Regions from separate parts of the Homo sapiens genome. Here all the other regions are linked to region 3. Evidence: promoter capture Hi-C in human tissues and cell types (Jung and others, 2019). All regions are on one chromosome and are shown on one strand. Each heading gives the region's core, a stretch centred on a gene start or on the middle of the fragment in contact. The rest is flanking DNA. Distances are from core to core; before and after follow the strand shown. Region 1 has its middle 170 kb from the start of ADRA1A. Region 2 has its middle 160 kb from the start of DPYSL2. Region 3 holds the start of TRIM35 (tripartite motif containing 35).

The links. Contacts are between HindIII fragments. The study calls those that stand out against the background at their distance.
Region 1: a fragment that was not itself captured here is called in contact with the fragment with the promoter of TRIM35 in region 3 in 1 of the 25 tissues and cell types used here (lymphoblastoid cells).
Region 2: a fragment that was not itself captured here is called in contact with the fragment with the promoter of TRIM35 in region 3 in 2 of the 25 tissues and cell types used here (dorsolateral prefrontal cortex and lymphoblastoid cells).

Annotation. Positions count from the first base shown.
Region 1 is chr8:26,697,709-26,702,094 of GRCh38, forward strand. No RefSeq gene overlaps it. Among named protein-coding and RNA genes, the nearest start is that of ADRA1A, 170 kb to the right of the region's middle. The HindIII fragment of the contact is 4,697 bases long and covers 171-4,386 here.
Region 2 is chr8:26,670,999-26,675,645 of GRCh38, forward strand. No RefSeq gene overlaps it. Among named protein-coding and RNA genes, the nearest start is that of DPYSL2, 160 kb to the left of the region's middle. The HindIII fragment of the contact is 4,501 bases long and covers 252-4,647 here.
Region 3 is chr8:27,308,200-27,312,576 of GRCh38, forward strand. TRIM35 (tripartite motif containing 35) reads right to left here and starts at 3,073. Exons shown (of 6, transcript NM_171982.5): 1 at 2,602-3,073. The coding sequence starts at 3,036. It also overlaps a transcript of PTK2B not described here. RefSeq lists enhancers at 2,042-2,151, 2,552-2,771, 2,782-2,931 and a silencer at 3,082-3,291. The HindIII fragment of the contact is 16,679 bases long and covers 1-4,377 here.

The DNA.
Region 1 (4,386 bases), core at 1,269-3,768, 610 kb before region 3:
TACTACTTAGGGCTACTTAGTACTTAGTACTTAGTACACTTAGCCCTGTCTCATGCTGTGTCCTCTCCCCCTTGGTCCACCATCCCTACAGTTTACTCCTACACACGTTGCAAAGTTTAGAGGAGCACAATTTGCATTCTATTCCTTGGCCAAGAGAAAAAGGCCGGGGAGTCTTAGTTGGAGTCCACGAGGCTGCTGGCTGACGACTAATCGAGTAGCATGGTAATCCTTTGTTTTACTGCCTTATATATGTTTTGCGTTTATAAGTCCAATTTACAGAAATGCCTCACAGGGTGAATGAAAGTGAATTTCTTGGAGGTCCCATGAGGACTGAGTGAGCCACCTCCTGCACCTGTGCTCTCTGCCTGGCCGGCGAGAACAACATCTAGAGGCTTCTTTGAAGGCTCACCTTAGTTAGGGCTGTTGGACAAACAAAATATGTCAATGTCTTCATTTGAGAGGCCACAGAACTTTGAAAACAATTTTTTAAGGAGACTTGAATGGAGTAGCTGGTGTGTACTTTGCAAAGCTTTGGAGAAGCTTTGAAGCTGGCCCTAAACAGTGCAGGCCAACACATTGAAGGCTTCTTTGAATGCTGGGTGTCCAGGGCTGTTAATGCCTTACTTGCACCTGCTATGAGGCTCAAAATAAAAACAACAACAACAAAATGAAAACAAAAAGTAGATCTCTTGATTAAAGGAAAATGGAAAGCCATTGGTGTCAACATGTTGATTTCAGTCCTCATATCTGACAGTAATATTTGTATACTTCTGTCTATACTTGTTAAATCTCTAATAAATACATTTTCTTGCTAAAAACTTATACATAGCAAATTCTTACCAGTTTATTAGTTAAAATTGGACTTCCTGTAGGCAAAGGTAAGAATTCTTTGCAATGTCAAGGAGAACCGAGACACTTCACCCCTCAAAATGTGCTATTGCATTAATGCGGTCAGGTTGGAAGCATTTGAGAAGCCTATTGCAAACCTCAGCTTGTTTATAAGAATTTTACAGAACTCTAGTTCATACAAGCTCATACAAGTCATACAAGCTCTATTGCTTAATTCACTTCCTAGACAGTGAAAGTGAAGTTTGTAACCATCTGTCAGAAAGTGATACAGTTAGGAAAATGTAGTTATATGTCAGCTAACTCCATTTCACTCAACAAACCGTATGATTAACACAGGTGTGTTCACAGGAAACACAGTGAGTGTTGGTCTTTGCTTAATGGAGTCTCAAGAAGACATTTTCAATGCTACAGGAGGCCTTTTCTTTCCCCTGCTAGAAAATTCATAGTCTTGTGACATTTTTTGGCAGTATGTGAAAATACAAGGAATTGATGGTGTGGATTCCTTGACACTTTAGGGAGGACTGCAAAGGGTTCAGAGCTTTGCTTCTAGTTTTTGATGGCATGAGATCCCATTTAGAAGCTCCTCTGAATGCTCACTGTAGCCAGCTTTTAAGTACAATGAGTTTGTTTGCTAACTATTATTATTTTGATATTAAAAAAATCAAACGGCTACTATTGGATTGCTTGCTTCTGTGGATCGCTAGGACTTTCAAGTAGAACTTAAATTCCAGTTCTAGAAATCCAGATAAATATTTAGAAGCTTCTGTGCATATTTGTGGAAGTCAGGGATGCGTTCAAGTTGGAGTGCACCAACAAACTCCTCCATTTCTTCAGCCAAAAGCCCCTGCCTTCCTCATAGAAAGTACACCTCCATGGGACACCTGAAATGGATTCCTTTCAACTTGAAGCTCTGTGAAATCAACGTTTGGAAGTGTCTGTGCTTGGTGACTATGCTTATGGCTGAAGTGCAACAAAATATTATAGTAATTTTTGTCTGCTTTACTGACACTTACACCTCTGACAGCACTTAGTTTGTGAGAACTGGAGTTGGGGGCTCATTAATAAATATTAACTGTTGGAGGAGAGTTCAGAGTTTCTCTCTACGCTCTCTCAGCTTGGTAAGGGCTGATTAGATTTAATGATACAGACTGGGCCACATTTGCTCTCGGGTGGCTTTCCTCTATGTTCATAGAGTCTCTCTGGGGTGAATCCTATGACCTGTCTGTGAGAACCAGTTGAAAGCACAAGAGATTCCGGTACTAAACATTGATAACAGTGTCAGCAACCTTCCTCTGTCAATGCTGTAAGGCCAGGGTTGAAATTTAGCCAAGTTTTATGCTTGTTGATTCCTGCCCCTCACTACTTACTCCAATTTCACTTCTTAAAAATGTGGTCACTATCCAATATTCTTTTTTTTTTTTTTTTTTTTGAGATGAATCTCGCCCTGTCCTCCAGGCTGGAGTGCGATGGTGCGATCTTGGCTCACTGCAACCTCCACCTCCTGGGTTCAAATGATTCTCCTGACTCAGCCTTCCCAGTATCTGAGATTACAGGCACCCGCCACCATGCCCAGCTATTTTTTTTATTTTTTATTTTTTATTTTTAGTAGAGACGAGGTTTCACCATGTTGGCCGGGCTGGTCTCGAGCTCCTGACCCCATGATCTGCTCGCCTCAGCCTCCCGAGTTGCTTGTGAATTGCCTTTGTTCCTGGTTTAGGTGGCATGAGGCATTGAAGCTGTGCTTTCACTTCCTAAGATTAGAACTAGGACACTGGAGACTGTGTCTTTTGATTCTTCTTTCTGAGAATTCTTTCAAATAGCTTCAGGTCCACTTCCTGTAAGCAAATTAACGTTTTGACTGTGAGATTTGCACTGGCCTTAACGAAGTATTCATGATTCAATTGAAAGCAATTTAGCGATTGCTGTAGTGAGTACTGACAGAAATCTTCAAAATGTCTAGCCCTAAACTACAAGAGTTTGTTTGGAATGGTTATCTATAGCATGTCAACGAATCACAACAGCTACTTGTTTCAAGTTCTATTTTTGAAAGCAAAGTACAGCAGCCTTGAAAGTCCTGAACTGGAGGAAGAAAAAGGAATCAGAAGAGTCAATAGAATGACATTTCCTGGCTTTTCTAAAAAAATAATAGGCCTCAAAAAAAATTAGCCGGGTGTGGTGGTGGGCACCTGTAGTCCCAGCTACTTGGGAGGCTGAGGCAGGAGAATGGCGTGAACCCGGAAGGCGGAGCTTGCAGTGAGCCAAGATCACGCCACTCACTGCACTCCGGCCTGGGCGACAGAGCAAGACTCAGTCTCCAAAAAAAAAAAAAAAAGAAAGAAAGAAAAAGAAGAAATATCCATCCATCATTTTCAATACCTAGGATATGAATTTAATCACATGGGGTGGCTTAGTTCTCCCCAAAACTTGAAGGAATCCTCACCAGCATCTCCTACATGTGTATTTCCTGTGAATAAAATGGTAGCAGCACTTAAGCAGGGAAATGAAGCTTTGATCATGCATCGGCTTCAGTACCAGTGACAGCAAGAAACAACACAGGTACACCCCAATATTTCTCTTGTTGTCTGCTATTGGTTTCTGAATAACAGCATTTAGTTTTTTTTCTCAATCTTGAAAGCCTGAGCAGCAGCTCTGCAATGTGAATCTAGCTCTTAAAGTTTTTGTAAGAAGCAAAAAGTGACTATAGCTGATGAAATGTATTTAAGTGTGTAGCAAACTCAAATGCCCTCTAGGTGGAGTATTCACAGACACTGGCAGAAATCTCTAATGGGGCTGACTTTATTTATAAGCAGGCAGTGCATATTGAAACTGATATCTTGGCTCTCTGTGCATCTTTAGGGGAGCAACACCAGCTGTTCTTTGGAAATTTGCAAACAAACTTGCAGTTGTTCTCAGTAGTTCATAGCAGGTGAAATAAAGGAGATATCACCAATCGGATTTGGGGGAGTTATGTGCTTTGGTTCTGTTGAGCTTGTTGGCAACCCAGTCTCCTGAAATCTTGCAACTAGTACATTTGGAACATACTATACTATTGCAGCAATAGTCTCTCTTTTTGATGTTGTAGGCTTTCTTTAGTTGTCTGGTAAACTCTGATTGCTTGTTCATATTTAAATATGAGGCAATAGAAAGACTGACCTGGATCTTGGTGGGAGAGGACGTGGCCTGCTAACTGGGTGAGAGGGCAGGGGGACAGTCATCACATAAGTGCCCTCAAACTTTGTCATTGTCCTTACAAGGCTGTAGGCAAGGTAACTTGTGTCCCCTAGTTGATGTTTTTCTTTTTTTTCTTTTGCCTTTCCCTGTCATGTATGTGTGAGAGGAGACTGTAGACATCTAGTTTCTCTGCTGCTTTGTGGTGGGGTGGTGAACTTGGGCATACACAGACCTTCCATTAACGCCCTGTCTCCTGGCCTACCTTTTCTGCTTTCCCTGCACTCTGAGCCCAGTCTGCTGGGTAGGTCTGTGGCTTCCAAGGTTGGGTTCAAAGCCACGCATGCTCAGCTTTCCTTCACTGGCCAC
Region 2 (4,647 bases), core at 1,252-3,751, 640 kb before region 3:
CTGATAGAGGCGCCCTGTGTTCAGATAGCGTTTGTGTGGCAGAGCTGACTGCAAGGAGACAAAGGCTTGCTGGGGCTTTCATAGGATGGTACTGTGCTGGAGTGGGCTATGTACACTACGATCACGCCGAGGCTGCAGGGAGCGAGCTTGCAGGTGTCTGGTGGTATAAGTCGGGCGCAGGAAGATTGTGAGTTATTTACACAGGAGGGCTGTGTGTCCTGGACCATGAAGAAAGGCAGACTTGTAGCTTGTTTGCTTCTTTTTGCTTTCCCCTGCTCCCACCAGCCTGACTTTTTCCCTAATGAGGACTTCACAGTTTGCAGCGTTGTCAAATTAGCTAACCAGATGCAATAGGAGTCAGGCTTTCATTCCCTCTTGCAGCCTGTTTCGGTGCTTCATGTTAAAATCCTGTAGTTACTCTCTCTCTCTTTCTTTCTCTCCCTTTCTCTCTCTCTCTGTCAACAGAGGCACTGTAAATTACCAGTGACTGGTCAAATTTGTGACCATTCTTTATCTCCTTCCCTCCTGTCCCTGAATTTGGCTCTCGTACCCAAGCCTGGCTTTCGTATCACACTGGATGTATGGGGAATGAGGCTCAGCACTGTCACTGCATTTGTGTTATTTCATCTGATCAGTGTTGTGATGAACTATAAACCACAAGGACTCAAGGGATCCCCCTGCCTCAGCCTCCTGAGTAGCTGGGATTACAGGTATTATGATACCCGAAATAGGTAATATATTAGCTGCCTATATACTATTCATGCTGATTCATTTATCTGTACTAATTAAGACTTAGCACCTTAGGTGAATGGAACATAGACCAAACAAGCTTTTTAAAATAACGATTTAAAACAAAAGAAAAGTAATGTATGTTAAATGTAAGAACATATTTAAAAAGTAAAGTATCAGCATAATATTGGCTTCCTATAATGATTTGGGATGTGTTCTTTCTTTTTTAATTTAATGCAAGAATGTATTCAATGTATTATTTCCTCCTTAACTGCTTGACTGGTTGAATTGACCATTGAAACCATTTGGACCTAGAGTTCTCTCTGTGGGAATGTTTTTAAACTACAAATTCAATTTCTTTAATAGGCATAGGGCTATTTAGTTTATCTGTTTCTTCTTGAGTAAGCTTTGGTAGTTTGTGTCTTCCATGGAATTTGTCCATTTCGTCTGAGTTGTTGAATTTATTGGCATAGAATTGTTAATCATATTTCCTTATTATCTTCTTAATATTAATAGAATTTTCAGTGATGTCATCCTCTCTTTCCCAATGTTAGTAATTTGCATCATCTCCCTTTTTCTCCTTATCACAATGGTTAGTTTATCAATTTCATTGATCTGAAAAAACTAGCTAATAGTTTAGTTGATTTTCTCTATTGTTTTACTGTTTTGCATTTAATTGATACTTCACTCTGATTTTCATAATTTCTTTTCTTCTATTTAGGACGAATTTAATTTGCTCTCCTTTTTCTAGTTTTCTGAAGTGGAATCTGATGTATTTTTTCTTTTCCAATGAAGGCATTTAGTGCTATAAGTTTCACTGAAGTTACCGTATTCATTTTCTTTTTACCCATGAGTTATTGAGGAATATGCTATTAAGCTTCGAAGTATTTGGGAATGATCCAGAGATTTTTCTGTTACTGACTTCTAACTTAAAGTCATTGTAGTTAGAGAACTTACATGGTGTGAACTTAAATAACCTTAAATTTATGGAGACATATTTTATGAGCCTAAATATGATCCATCTTGAAAAATGTTCCAAATGCACTTGAGAAAAATGAGTATTCTGCTGAGAGGGAATGGAGGGTTCTATAAATGTCGGTAGGCCAAGTTGGTTGATGGAGTTCTTGAAATATCCTAATGTCCACAGTGATTATTCATCTACTTGTTATATCAAGCCATACCAGCCTATTAGCTGAGAATGACTGGATCTGAAATTTTAGGACAGTGTCAAAGTGGAGCCAGCAGCATCATTATTTGGTTTTCCACATTGTTGGGAGACCATCCCTGTAACATATTCCAAAGCAAATTTCTATAAAATGCCAGTCTGGGGAGATGCTCTGTGGAAACAATGTGATATAGGTCAAATGGGTATGAAGCACTTGGGGAGTTAGAATACATATATGAAATCTTGTTTAATTTGGTTAATTATTTCTCAAATTTATTTTATCATAGCATCATTTTTTTACGTGACACTTATAAAATCCTTCAGAACTAAAATTATTTGGGATACATTTAGAGAAATATGTAGATATGGCTAGTATCTAGTAGGTACTAGATACATTTCTAGCTTTTGTGGTCACATAGATACTTTTTATTTGTAAAAGTATTATTACATTCCTATTTTAGTAAGTCCTTTTTTTAAAGAGCAGGTACCACATTTTAACAAATCTTAATGGGATGAACTTGTGGTTTTCATTTGCCACTACTGAAGTGACAAATGATATTAATTCATGGATATTATTTTCTAATGAAGCTGATATCAATTTGTGTAGAGTTGTATTTAGAATGTTAGATCAATATCTATAGTTGAGACAGGTCAAAGGGTTTTTGAATGTGTATGTTAGTTTTGTCAGGCTTTGACACTTAAGGCTAGGGTGGCTTCTTAAATTAATTAGGATTGTTTCCATGTTTGTGGGCTGCAGAATAGTTTATATAACATAAAAATTATCTGTTTGAAAGCTTAAAAAGACTTGCCCATAAAACTGTCTGAGCCCAGAACCATAATTAGATTATAAATACGTGTAATTAAGGGAATGTTTGGTTTGTTTTATGTGTAAAGAGTGGAGGAGAGTTAAATACTTGACATGTGGGAGAGGCTTCCTTAAAGTAATAGAGCCCCTTGACACCAATTACAAGGAAACATGTGCTTCCTCTGTGTTCCCTCCCTCCCTTCCTCCCTCCCCTCCTCCTCCCTCCCCTCCTCCTCCTCCTCTTCCTCCTCTTCCTCCTCCTCCTCCTTCTTCTTCTTCTCTCTCCCTCTCTCCCTCCCTCTCTCTCTCTCTCTTTCTTTCTTTCGTCTCACTCTGTCATCCAGGCTGGAGGGCACTGGCACGATCTTGGCTCACTGCAACCTCTGCCTCCTGGGTTCAAGTGATTCTCCTGCCTCAGCCTCCCAAGTAGCTGGGATTACAGGTGTCCCCCAAACATGCCTGGCTAATTTTTTGTATTTTTAGTAGAGAAGGGGTTTCACTACATTGGCCAGGCTGGTCTCGAACTCCTGACTTCAGGTGATCCACCCGCCTCGGCCTCCCAAAGTGCTGGGATTACAGGTGTAAGCCACTGCGCCCGGCCTGACTTAGGGTTTTCTTTCACCAGGGAGATAAACACAGGATTGATCAGGTATAGCTTTATGTAATTGATCTAAGCAATACTTTGACCAAGACAGAAGCCCCTGGCTACATCTTTACCAGCAACAGAAGAAATTAAACCCTTCTTAGTCAGGACTAGAGAACTTGACACTGTCACAACGTGAGTAAAACTGAGAGAGGCTGATGGGAGCAGAGCATCCCATCTATGCAGGAGAATCCCTGTCCCGGAGCAAGCAGGAGGCTGATGGGAACAGAGTATCCCATCTATGCAAGAGAATCCCTGCCTTGAGACAAGCAGGACCAGCATGCACCAAGGTGCATGAAATTCCTGCGATAAACATCCAGTTATCCATGTTAAGACGAGCACCTTGTCATCACCCAGCCAAGATGTTCTTCTTTACGGGCAAGTCAATTCCTGTTGCCTGTTTCTTTTCTTCCTTTCTTTTTTTTTTTGAGACAGAGCTTCACTCCTGTTGCCCTGGCTGGAATGCAATGGCGTGATCTCTGCTCACCACAACCTCTGCCTCCTGGGTTCAAGTGATTCTTATGCCTCAGCCTCCTGAGTAGGGATTACAGGCATGTGCCACCAAGCCCGGCTAATTTTATATTTTTAGCTGAGACAGGGTTTCTCCATGTTGGTCAGGCTGGTCTCGAACTCCAGACCTCAGGTGATCTGCCCGCCTCGGCCTCCCAAAGTGCTGGGATTACAGGCAAGAGCCACTGCGCCCGGCCTCCTGTTGCCTGTTTCTTAGGGTCCCCTTTGTGTATTTGAAAATTAAAACATGAACCTGGGGCCTTTAGAGTGAGAATATCTCCTGGCTTCAGGGTTGTGACTTAACCTCTTAGTAGCCATCTCTATTTTATTTTATTTTTAAGCATGTCATCACTTTTAGGTGTGCAGTTCAATGGCATAAAGTATATTCACACTCTTGTACAACCATCACCACCACCCATTTCCAGAACTTTTTTCATCTTGTGAAACTGAAACTCTGTCCTCATTAAGCACCAGCTCCCCCTTCCCCCTGGCCCCCATTCCTGGCAATCACCACTCCACTTTGTCTGTATGATTTTGACTACTCTAGCTATCTCATATTAGTGGACTCATGCAGCATTGTCCTTCTGTGATTGGCTTATTTAATTTAGCATAATATCTTCCAGGTTCATCCATGTTATAGTATGTGTCAGAATCTCCTTTATCAAGGCCGAATAACATTTCATTGTGAGTATACACCACATTTTGTTTATCTGTGCGTTGGTCAATAGACACTTGGGTTTCTTCCACATGTTGGCTATTGTGGATAATGCTGCTATGAACATGGGTGTATAAATA
Region 3 (4,377 bases), core at 1,823-4,322:
AAACTTGTGCTATTTTAAACCACCACATTTATTACGCAGTAACAGGAAACACAGGACCTGAAAATACGTTTTTGTGAGCATTAAATTTGTTGACGTGTGAACACTGAAAAGCATCTAGCACACAGTGAGCACTGAAATGTGTTAGCTGGGATGATTTTGACTTTGCTGTTCCTCACATAGATAGTTGGCAAAGTAATCTTTCTCTAAAACACACATCCCATCACAAACTCCCCTGTTTAGAATCTTTCAGAGCTCCCCACAGCACAAAACGGAAAACCCCCTCAGTGAGGCACACAGCTTCTTACCCAGTCCCTTCTTACCAAGTGGTGGAGGGAATCTTCCCATACCGCTCCCCCACAACCACCTACCTTGAATCACACAGAACTACATCTTGTCTATTGACTGTCTATGCCCCCTGCTCAAATGAGAATTCCATGAAGCTAAGAAGAGGCCACAGCACACAACAGCCATCAGTACCCATTTGTCTAGTAAATGAGTGATTTGCACCCTGCATCAGGCTGACCACACCTGGCTCTCATTCTTCTCAGATCCATTTGGGACTAGACTACTCAGCCCCTGACATCATCCTGAGTGTCCACTGACTTGACACCATCATTCTTCTGCTAAAACCCCCAGCTGCTGTTCACAGCAAGGGTGAGCCACCGGCCTCCTGGATCCTCCTGCACGTCCCTCCTCATTCTAACTACCCTTAAATTCCCTCAGTGCCTAGAAAGTCAGGCTTTCCCACTTCTGGACCCTTCCAAATGCTGCTGCCTCTATCTGAAATACCCTCTTTCACCTGGCTAACACCTCCTCTTCCCTCGGGTCTCTGCTGGAAGCTCCTTGAGGCTGGAAATGGTCTATCTTGTCTCCTGCAGTATCCCTGGGACCTTGCAGTACCAGGCATCTGCTGGTGCATGGCTCTCTGCTCTTGAATCCTGGCTTGGCCCCAGCCTGGGGGCTCTGCCTGGGTGTTCTCAGCCCTGACCCCAGCATCTCCTGATCAGCACCTCGGCCAGCCAAATAGGCATCAGTCATGACCTGAACCATGATCCCTCCTTTACCTGGGCCCCAGACCCCTGGCTGGCCAGCACTTATTCCAGCTGTCCCAAATCAGGATCTGTCACTTCTGCCAGTGGAAACAGGAAAAGCATTGACATGGACCCATGTTAAACAAAAAAGATGACAGGAGTAACAGGGTTACTCATTGAGACATGCGTACTGACAGCATCCTTACATTCCCCTTCAATTAAACTTTGTCAAATGCATTTGGAGCGGAACAGACTTCCGTATTTAAAAAGGTATTGCAAAAAAAGAAGGCAGGGCCACAGAGGGGGCCAGAAACCAGGCACAGGGGACTCGGGCAGCTCCTCCTCTCCAGTCCATGCAGCTTCGGGCCAGCTACCCAGTGTTCTCCCAATTGGGGCTCTGACTCATGCATTAGCAGGTGATGAAATAAATTCAATGTTTCACATTCTGGGTAATTTTTAAAAGTAACAGAGGCCAGGCGGAGTGGCTCACGCCTGTAATCCCAGTAGTTTGGGAGGCAGAGGAGGGCAGATCACTTGAGGCCAGGAGTTCCAGACCAGCCTGGCCAACATGGTGAAACCCTGCCTCTACTAGAAATTAAAAAAAAAAAAAAATTAGCCAGGCGTGTTGGTACATGCCTGTAATCTCAGCTACTCGGGAGGCTGAGGCACCAGAATCGCTTGAACCCAGGAGGCGGAGGTTGCAGTGAGCTAAGAGCACGCCACTGCACTCTAACCTGGGCGATAGAGGTCTCAAAAAAAAAAAAAAACAAAGGGAAGTAACAGAAAATATCAGAGTGCCATGGACATGTTCAGAAAACTTTTGTTTCAACTGATACATATGTTCTGGGTCACAAGGGAAAATGCATTGCTTCCTATGGGCTAAGATTAAACGTTTTGGAAAATGCTGAGTTAGGCTAACCCTTATCTTCTATTCATTTTTCCTTCCTATATCAAAGAATTCTCCATGTTAGTTTTGCCCTGTAAGTTGCTCCTGGGTTTATGTATAGTCACTAGAACTCTAGATATGGAGATGCTGCTTTATAAACCAGAATAGGCCAGCCAGCCAGGGTCAGAGACCTCTCACTCAGATAATACAAACCGCGGGATCAGCTTGGCAAGTAGGTGACTGGTTTGGGGGAAATCTTAAGACTCCACACCCCTGGCCAGGTCTGTGGCTCCTCCTCCACTTCTAAATTGAGTGTGCCAAGCTACAGGGCTCGTGGGCTGCACCCACATCCGTGCCGCTTAAAGGGACCTGGGCCACACCCGGCTGGCACAAGGGGTGCATGGCCTGGGCCCTTCAGAAGCAAGTGTCGCTGTCTTGGGAACATCATGTAACCTCATCTGTCACTTTCCGTTCGCATTCTCTTCTCCCAGCACGGGCCCCTGGGCCGACCTTGAAGAAGCAGCCAGCCCTGAGAACCTGGGTCGGAGAGGTGGGGTCCTGCATGCTGGGAGCGAGACGCGGGCACACTGGGCTCTGGCAGGCAGGAGGGGCGGGAGCCGCAGAGCCAAGGGATTCCGGGTTCCAGACCCGGCTCGGCCGCCTCGTGCAAATCGCTGCTCTTACCCGAAAGTCGTGGGCAGTGTCCTTCACCGGCTGCACGCGGTGCCCCTGGTGTCGGGGGTCGGCCTGGCAGGAGCAGCACAGCAGCTCCTTGTCCTCGAGGCAGAAGAGGCTGAGCTGTCCGCGGTGCAGGCGGCAGACACGCGAGAAGCGGTAGCTGGTCCAGCGCGCGCCCTCGGCCTCCTCGCGCAGCAGCTTCTCCACCAGGTTGTTGAGGGTGTGGTTGGTGCGCAGGTCGGCGGGTGACGCGCGGTCTTTGCACACTGGGCAGGTGGGCGACACCTGCACCTCCCAGCAGCGGCTCACGCACCCGCGGCAGAAGTTGTGGCCGCAGCGCAGAGTGACTGCGTCGCGGAAGGGGTCGTAGCAGACGGCGCAGAGCAACTCCTCCTTGAAGGAGCGGGAAGGCCCGGGGGACACGTCGGGACTCCGCTCCATGGCACGAGCAGCCGGCTCGGGCGCCCGGAACTTTTGCTCCGGCCCCTCCCACCCGCCCGGCTGCCAACGCCCGCGACCCGAGTGCTGGGAATCGCCCAGTCCCTTCCCCTGGAACGCTGAGAGACAGCGGCGCTGGCCAATCGTGCGGGGGGGATGGCGAGGGGGAGGGAGGGGGCGCTCGGAGGAGCCCCACCCACTTCCGGTGTGCGCGGGAAATCTTGGGAGAGCGGGGTGGGCCTTCTGCCCGCAGTTCCCGCCTCCTCAGGTCCGGGCGGGTCCCTGGCCGGGGTAGCACGGAAGGGTCTCCCAGGCGGCGTAGTAGGGCTTCCGTGTTACTGGAAACCTACTTCCGGCTGCAAATGGGAAAAGGAGCCTCTACCTTAACCAATCCCCGGGAACCTCAGGCCCGCGGATGGGAGAAACCAGAGATGCCAACTTCCTGCTTCCGAAGTAGTGGCTGGGTCTTAAAGCACCGTGAGTGCAATCACCACTTAAGTTTGCAGCGCCTTTTTGAGGACCTATGCCACTCTTGCATTAGTCGTTTACTTATTTTGGCCAGTCTTCTTCTGGCCCGCCGCGGTAAGGAGAAACAAGAGAGGGGTGGCGGCAGAAGAGCTCCGAGAAAACCTGATTCTTGTCCTGTGGTTGAAAAAGTGAACAGGTCATCATGTTTCAAAGTCCATTTACTCATGAGTACAATGGCTGTAATAGCTCTGTTTCCATGAAGTGTGAGGATAAAGTGAAATAAATGTGGAAAGTGCTCATGACAACCACTGTTTTAATGGGCAAGTGCCCATTAAAACAGTGAAATTGAGGACTTCTGCAAAGTTTAGCTGAGATAACTAGAGTTCATGCTCAATTCTTGCCAGGTACAGTAGGCCTGGATGGTTCCTTCAGATCTTCATTCCTGCTTCAGTTTGATCACTTTACAGCCTCCAGATGCAGAATACTTTTCACACGATGCACTTTCATTCCTTTTCTATTGGGAGACAATTCACATGTGTCATGTTCCTGCATGTCTTGAGAGAGCAGAGGCACTGACTGCCTTTTTCCAACTATCTTTTCAAGGATGTTTCTGCATTGAATAGCCCTGGAAGACAGAATTCTTGTCTCTCCAAAGATCTGGCAGACTTATTCCCAATTATAAGAGATGTGAGTTTCCTAAACTTGGGGCCCCTCTCCTGTAATGCAACCTACTGTAGCCTTCATCACATAGTCTTGCAAGAATTAGGGCTCAGAAACTGGCCCAATGACAATACTGTGACTACTATTATTGCTGTTAGTATTATCCTTTGTCTCTGACCCAGGAGTTTCATCTTTTAGCAGTATTCATGAAATTTT